3 separate regions of the Homo sapiens genome follow, and regions 2 and 3 are each linked to region 1. The links are contacts of gene promoters, found by promoter capture Hi-C in human tissues and cell types (Jung and others, 2019). All regions are on one chromosome and are shown on one strand. The core of a region is centred on a gene start or on the middle of the fragment in contact, and the rest is flanking DNA. Distances in the headings are between cores, read along the strand shown.

Evidence for each region. Contacts are between HindIII fragments. The study calls those that stand out against the background at their distance.
Region 2: a contact is called between a fragment that was not itself captured here and the fragment with the promoter of GREM2 in region 1, in 1 of the 25 tissues and cell types used here (stomach).
Region 3: a fragment that was not itself captured here is called in contact with the fragment with the promoter of GREM2 in region 1 in 1 of the 25 tissues and cell types used here (mesendoderm cells).

What each region holds. Positions count from the first base shown.
Region 1 is chr1:240,610,719-240,613,477 of GRCh38, forward strand. GREM2 (gremlin 2, DAN family BMP antagonist) reads right to left here and starts at 1,437. Exons shown (of 2, transcript NM_022469.4): 1 at 1,166-1,437. The HindIII fragment of the contact is 18,584 bases long and covers 1-2,759 here.
Region 2 is chr1:240,306,796-240,309,554 of GRCh38, forward strand. The region is part of intron 8 of FMN2 (formin 2); the gene reads left to right. Among named protein-coding and RNA genes, the nearest start is that of FMN2, 220 kb to the left of the region's middle. The HindIII fragment of the contact is 4,341 bases long and covers 1-2,759 here.
Region 3 is chr1:240,348,575-240,351,333 of GRCh38, forward strand. The region is part of intron 13 of FMN2 (formin 2); the gene reads left to right. Among named protein-coding and RNA genes, the nearest start is that of FMN2, 260 kb to the left of the region's middle. The HindIII fragment of the contact is 9,364 bases long and covers 1-2,759 here.

The DNA of each region.
Region 1 (2,759 bases), core at 187-2,686:
TGCTGTTTAGACGAAAGGTAAGGTATTTGATTGCCCCTGCACCTGCTGCAGAGCCATTCTCTGGCTGTACTGGAGTCCCAATCTGTTCCACTGCAGAAAAAGCGCTTTTCATAGGGATTCAGAGCCACATGAATACCAGCCAGCCCTTGAAGACTGCAAAGCAAGACCAATTTTTTAACTGACTTCTTGCAGTCCCCTCTGGCTTTTCCCAGGAAAGACTGAACTCATTAAGCAATGCTAATTTAATCACAAGTCATCAAGGGGTGGGGAGTTATATAACTATCTTTAAAATTTCAAATCAAACATGATAAAATCTCAGGAAATAGATTTTTTTAACAAAACCCACACCTCAAAATAAAAAAAAAAAAGAAATAGAAGTTTATGAGTTTTAGGATCAAATAAAATAAAATCAAACATCAATATTTTCTTACAACTATCACATCTACTAGATAGTTCCAATTCATGACTTTTTAATGTAGTAATATGTGAGATCCTGGAACTGAACGTGCCTGGCGTGCAGAATACAAATGCATTTTTAAACTCGTAAGACAATGTAGAAATAAGTCAGGTACACAGGAAGGATCACTGACAATCACGTTAAAAAATAACTACCTCCCTTCTCTCTTCTCCTTCAACCACAGCGTAGTGATAATAGTGATATTTCCCTCATGAGGCGGGTGCACCTTGGCCATATGCTTTAAAAAATCAAAACTCTGCCGAAGTCCGCTGTGGTTCCTATTCCTGTAGGGAGGATATTAACCTGGTAGGTAGGTGGGAGAGGTTCGTAGCCCGCTTTCTAACAATTGGATGGTGTTTGCCTCGCTATAGTCATGATTAGAATGGCGGTCACCAAGAGGTATTTATTGGTGGGATGACAACATATTGGTATTGACGTTATTTAAAAGAGAAAGAAAGAGCGATCACGGTCAAGTTTGAAGGTCCTTATGTTACACCCACGCATAATTCAATAGGTGAATAAACCTTGTGGCCCCCAGACACACGCCAACAGCTTGAATTACCCGGGGTGAAACCGGCGAGACGTCCACTCAGGGCTTTCGGTCCTGACCAGCCACGGAACAAACAACGTCAATTCATTCTAAGTGCCTGGTGAAGGTAGAAATCAGAAACCGTGTCTGTGTCACGTTAGTCGTGACAAGCTGCGTACCTGCAATGACGTGATGGAAGCCTCCTCCTCGGGTCCCTTCTCTCTCTCTCTCTCCCTCTCCCTCTGCCTTCTCTGAGTTCTCTAGTCCACAGCGGGGTCTAAGTTTGGTCTCCCGCCGCCGCTTTCAGTTCGACCGCAGCCAGACTGCAGCAGACGCCCATAAGAGAAGCGCGCCGGCTGAGGGTGCAGGAGAGGCGAGAGCGCGCCCCGCGCCGCGCGGTCCCAGGCTGGCTGCTCCTGCAGATGTGAAAGGAGCCCGGAGACTTAGCTCTGAATCCTCTCGGCGCTGCATGGGGATATTATCAGAGTCTGGGATTTCTATTGGCTCTGAACACCAAACAAATCACACCAGCCACCCCCCTTCTCTGTTTCACTCAGCGCTTGTTTCTCATCTAACCCACAAACATTGCAGCCACACCACACACTTCAGTCGCTTGCAATGTTTCTCTTTTCCTCCTTCCAGTCAGTGGATTTACAACCCTGTGGTCAGCTCTAACATTTTTTTTAGCAGACTTCCAATTCTAACCTTCTTGTTTATGTAGAGAAATTCTCCCTCCATCCCCTAAACCAGAAAAAAACAAAAAACAAAAAAAAAACACTCATTCCCTTCAGATCTTCTTCCTTTTGCTGATGGGTTTCCAATGTGAAGAATGTAGAAAGCCTGTGTGTGATATGTCTGACATTCTCATACACGTGCGCTTACACACACACACACACACACACACACACACACACCAGGCTCCTTTTGTTTGCAGTAACTGAGGCCAGTGAAATAAAAAGCAAGCTGAGCCTAATAACCTAAGTGAGAGCTTAACTAATAAAATCTTGAATGAATTCAGTGCAAAACACCCATTGCTTGAATTTGTTTTCTGTTCCAAATAGTACTTTGGTCATTATTATCCTGATTTTTGTTTATTGAATGCAGAGGTTTCTAATGCAAATCAGACTCTTCAACATCCAGAGAACATAAAACAATGACGCCAGACCAATTCTTGTGCTCCATCGGCTTGGTGCGTTATACCAGAAGCGTATTGTGACGCCTAAGTGCTTGCTCTTTTCATTATTTTTTGAACTTCTCACCACTGATCATCTCAGGACTGAGACTCCCTTAGTGTGATTCACCAGCCAAAGACGACTATTCAGACTCTGCTGATAGAGGTTCCTGGATGAAAATTTTTTATCTGTATGTGTCAATAGAGATAAACCTTTGGCCCCTTGGCAGGGAAAGGGCCCAAGAAAAATCTGAGATCTTACAAACTTGGCTGGGGAAATTCAGAATAAAATAAAGTTTCAGTGTGTCTTATAAAACAGACCCTCCCTTAGACTTTTCCCCAAAATCAATTTCACTGGTGCTTATGGAAATTTTAATGACAGTTATTCTTGACAAGAAGCCATTGCTTCTGAAATCTCTGAGCTCTGTTTTGATTTTTGACTTGAATTTTTTTTTTGCAGTGTTATCCCTTTTGTATGCTATTTGGTATTTGATATTCTAGTTCCAACTCAACTCACAGCACATTGGGTTGCAAATTCACAGGAAATAACAATTAGTTCTTGAAATATACTATCACCAAACAGACTACCTGCCTTCTTTCTT
Region 2 (2,759 bases), core at 166-2,665, 300 kb before region 1:
CTATTTTTAGTTCATTGGGAAATCTCCAAACTGCTGTCCACAGTGGCTGGACTAGTTTGCATTCCCACCAACAGTGTATAAGCATTTCCTTGTCTTCACAACCTCTGTAACACCTGTTATTTTTTGACATTTTAGTAATAGCCATTCTCACTGGTGTGAGATGGCATCTCATTGTGGTTTTGATTTGTATCTCTCTGGTGTTTAGTCATGCTGAGTACTTTTTCTTAAGTTTAGCTGCTTGTTATCATCTTTTGAGAAATGTCTTTTATTGTCCTTTGCCACTTTTTAATGAGGTTGTTTCCTTTTTTCTTGTTGATTCATTTAAATCCCTTATAGATTCTGGATATTAGTCCTTTGTCAGATGCATAGTTTGCAAATATTTTCTCCCATTCTGTTGGTTATCTGTTTATTCTTGTCAAGAGTTTCTTCTGTTGTGCAGAAGCTCTCTTTGGTTTAATTGTGCCATTTCTCTATTTTTGGTTTTGTTGCATTTGTTTTTAGGGTTTCATCATAAATGTTTGCCTAGACCAATGTCTAAAAGAGTATTTCCTAGCTTTTCTCCCAGAGTTTTTATAGTTTGAGGTCTTACTTTTAAGTTTTTAATGCATCTTGAGTTAATTTTTATGTGTGGTAAGAGGTAGTGGTCCGGTTTCATTCTTCTGCATATGGTTAGCCAGTTTTCACAACACCATTGATTGAACAGGGTGTCCTTTCTCCATTGTTTATTTCTGCTAACTTTGTCAAAGATGAGTTGGTTGTAGGTATGCAACTTTATTTCAAGGATCTCTGTTCTGATCCATTGATCTGTATGTCTATTTTTGTACCATGCTGTTTTGGTAACTGTAGCCTTGAAGTATAGTTAGAAGCCCAGTAATATGATGCCTCTGGCTTTGTTCTTTTTACTTAGGATTGCCTTGGCTATTGGGGCTCTTTTTTGTTTCATTTGAATTTTAGAATAGTTTTTCCTAATTCTGTGAAAAATGATGTTTGTAATTTGATAGGAATAGCATTGAATCAGTAGATTGCTTCAGGCAGTATGGATATTTTAATGATATTCTTCCAACCCATGAGCATGGAATGCTTTTCCATTTGTTTGTGTCGTCTATGATTTCTTTCAGCAGTGTTTTGTAGTTCTCCTTATAGAGATCATTCACCTTCTTGGTATTCCTAGGTATTTAATTAATTAATTAATTATTGTGGCTATTAGGTACATTATAGTTTTTAAAATATTCTGTGTTAAAGAGAAAAAAAGTCAATGTGAGGGAAAGGATGTTGCCCAGGATGGTGGGTACAATTTTAAATATGGTTGTTATTTGAAAGATGACATTTGAACTAGGAATTGCGGGAGATGAGGAAGAGAAGCCATGTGTAAATCTAAGAGACCATATCATGCCTGAAGTGTGAGCAAGTCTGATATATTCAGGGAACAGCTGGAAGCCCACACAGCTGAAATGGCACAAGGGAGGGGAACATTGTAGAAGTTACTTAGAGATAAATTGGTGGGGACTAGCCCCTCTAGGGACTTGTAGAACTTTGTAAGACTTGAACTTTTTCTCTGAGTAAAATGGGAAGTTAACACACAGTTTTGGCTAGAGGATTCATGTTTCAAAGCTTGTCCAACTCGCTTTATTTTGTTGTTGTCATTCTGTTTTGTTTTGTTTCAGGCTTTTAGCAGCCTGAAGCCATGGTGTTTAGTTTCGTGTCTAGTGATAAGCAGAAAAGAGGGACGAGGACGGGGCTTTACTGGCCCAACCAGAAACAGAAACTAAGAACCCACGACTGTATTCTGTCCCTTGGACACCCCTGTAAGAAGTTCTGACAACTAGGAATAGACTGTGAGAAGCAAGGTGGAGTGTCAGAGACCTTTCAGAGTTAAGAGATGATAGTGGCTTGGACCTCAGTTAAGAGATGATAGTGGCTTGGACCTCAGTGTACACAGTGGAGCTGCTGAGAAGTGGTCAGATTCTGGAACTATTTTGAAGAATATGCCAGTAGAATTTGCCAGCGGGCTGGGTATGGACTGTGAGAGAAAACAAGAAATTGAGAGTGATCCCACAATTTTTGGCCTGGGCAATAGGAAGGGATTGCCATTAGCTGATAAGTGGAAGCAGCTTGGTAGAAAATGGGGCAATGAGAATTCTGTGGTTATGTTAGGTTTGAGTGGTCTGTTCCTTCATAATTGATATGCAGACACAGGGGTCTAGTAGTCTCAAGGCAGAAGGTGGAGAGTGAGGGTATGAGTGTTAGAAAGTCTAACAGTATGGGTTCAATTGGGACATAAACCACAGACTAATATAAGCAGAAGAGTTTATTATAATGAATGATTAACCTATGATGGAAGAGTACAAGAATATAGTGATAACTTTAACAGCACCCTAGGGATGAGTAAGCATACCCAAGTTCGGATAAGCTTGGAAGGGGGTCCCCTCTCTAAGACTGGGGTGCAGATTTCATTGGAGAAGGTGTGTTTGCAGCCCACTGGTTTGCCTGGGCCATAGCTGGTCACGTCTCTGGGCAAGCAAGAAAACACACTTCTGGGGGCAGGTGAACTCTAGCTAGTGGGCAGGCATGCAGGAGTTAGGATGCTACAGTGAACGTGAAGCCCAGAGTGTACAGTATCTATGTAGGGAGGGCCCAGGAAACAAACCTCAGGGCACAGGCAAGCCTTGGCTGGTGCAGGTGCACAGTGCGTGGTGTCTGCATTGGAGGCAAACTGGTCACTGAGTCTAGGTCAGGACTGCAAGGTTGCCAAAGGGCTC
Region 3 (2,759 bases), core at 85-2,584, 260 kb before region 1:
GATGGAAAGAGATCACTTTTCAAAATGACTTAGGTTGGAGCCCTGTCAGGTACATTCTGAAAAGAGTCCCCAGTTGATTCTGAAGTTTACATCTTCATGAAGGAGCACTGACCTTCCGTTCAATTACCAAGCTCTGCAAATTTTACCCCCTAAATATTTCTTGTGTCTGTATCTTCCCTTGTCTGAATTTAACTCTCGCTTTTGTCAGTACATATACAGTACTTGTGAAAGGTAGTGAGGCCAGACATCAATGTTTTTACTGTTTCTATGTTTTTTGTTTGTTTTGTTTTGCTTGTTTGTTTGCCTCACTACATGGAGTGACTGGGTTTTCTCAAATTATTTTCCCAGTGTCCGGTCACTAGCTCTGTGGATATTGAGAGGCAGAGTTGGTGCACAGGGCAATGACTGATTTGATGGTGCAGACTTAACAAGTAAGGTTTGAGTCTAAAACCAAAAGTCGAGCCTGTGGTACCTACCACACAGCATAGGTCCTGACTGTGCCATATATAGCATGCCCCTGGTGGGCTGATTTTATAGTTTTTGTTCTGGGAGTCATTTTTGGAGACCAAGTGTAGAGCCCAATGTCTGTGCACTTACACCTACTTTGCAAGCATCTTGCTGCCTACATTGATCTGCTTTAAGTGGCTACAATGGTGTCTGTTTCCTAAAACTGAACCCAGAATAATGTACAAACCAGGCTTACGTGGGAAACAGTTGGATTTTAGAAGAAAGCTTTCTGATCTGATTACAGTTATTTCTTTTCCTTTGTATCTGTTATGTGACTTCCTTCCTACTTGCTGAGGCTGGTTTGTAGATGCCAATGAAACTTTCTGGAAGCTCACAGAAAAGCAGCAACTCTAAGCTGTGATTAACATTGATTGAACTTGTAGACTTGTATAAATTATTCCAATTCCCTACTCAAAAAAAAAATAGCCAGACTCTTCATGATCATGGTTCATTCCAGGGAGTGGCATGTCATGTCCTTGCTTTAATCTGACAGTGATAAACTGGTGTTTGCCCCACAACGTGCCACTCTGTGGATGGCATGGATGTATTGGAACCCATTGTCTGGTGGGAATGTCTGACATTTTTCTTTCTTTCCTCTGGCTGGGTTATTCTTTGTATTTGGAAACCTAATGCATGCTTTCTGATACTAGCCCTTCAACATGATATAAAATCTTTTTGACTCAGAGAAGTCTTTAAATTAAACAAAAGTTGAGATGATTGGAATTACTCGGTTATGCCAACAGTCTCCTAACAAATGTTTTTTAATATTTGGATTTGACTGCAATGCAAGTTTTCCAGGAACTCTATCTTTGTTCTGTTTTTAATAATGTTTCTAAATGACCCTTCAAGTTTGTGAGATTGTAGTGTTCGGTATTTTTTTTTTTTATTTACATAGTCACATACCAATTTTGAGGATGATAAGTAATAGCCAAGATGATATGTTGTGCAACTTGATGTGCTACAGTTAAGAGAAGAATGGTGTCCAGTCTTCTAAATATATTCCTTATATGTAAGCACATTGAGCATATTTATATGTGGCATTGTGTATGTACAAAATATATGAGAGTTATGAATGTAGAAACTCTAGAACGTGACATTCTATTTTTACATTTATCCAACAGGCTCTTCCTTCTTAATATAGTGAATAAGTAAAGCAACAATTACCAAGAAATAACTGTACAGGTTTTATATCACACTGAGCTTTGGAAATTTGGATGTGAGTTTTGGTGGTTTACCTCAGTGACCACTGGAGACTTAATATCCCTATTAAGGAAAGCCTTGGCCTTGATTATGGGCATCATTGAAAGCACTTTCTTTCATACAGGGTCTTAGTACTTCCTCTGCATTTCAGACACTTGACACACAGAGGTGAATAGGATAGCCCTTGGCTTCAAGGAATGCAAATTATAATCAGAAACAAAGATACACAAACAAATACATTCAATGAAATAATATAATTAACAGCTTTTTTATTTTTAAAAGAGTTTTCTAACAGCCAGCTTAGCACTTTAAGTTCAACTTCCAGTTGAGGCTGAGATAATTTAAGTAGCTAGCCCAAGATTACAGAGCTAATAGAAGAACTGGACTTGCATCCAGATCCGTTTAACCAGTGCTTTGATTCTATCCTATATCATTTGTACGTGTTCTGTAGAAAAGGGAGATGCAAAGTTGAGGGGAGATTGACCCTCTTGTCTTGAGGTAACAGTTGAACCAGACTCTGGGAATGGATAAGTAGAAGTTCAAAACTGGTCATTAAGTGGTGAGAGTATGTCTGGTGGGTGAATAGCATGGGGAAGGGTTGGAGAAATGTGCATAAGCAAGACATTTTGCAGATAAACAAGAAGCTCACTATGACAGGAAGATACAATGAAATTATTTATTCATTCCACAAAGAACTGTTGAGTGCATATTGCCTGTGGGAGATTATTCTAAGTACTGGTAATACAGCAAAGTGAGTAAATGGAGACTGTCTCATAGGAGATGAGAGTAGAGAAGAAATCTATCCTCAAAACAAGCAGACTTGTTCTGTGACTCATTAAATACCTGAACTATCAGTGGTGGACTTTTAAAAACATCTTTTTACTTTGTAATGGCACAAGTATTTGTGTGACTATATCCAGCATATTTTAAAGCAACCTCCAGACATGTCATTCCGCAGGGGGTGCACTGTAGAGAGATATTTACTCAGTATACAGTTGGGAATTCTAATATTTTGAGCTGCTTAGTAAGGAAAAAGCTGCCCAGAAGCAATA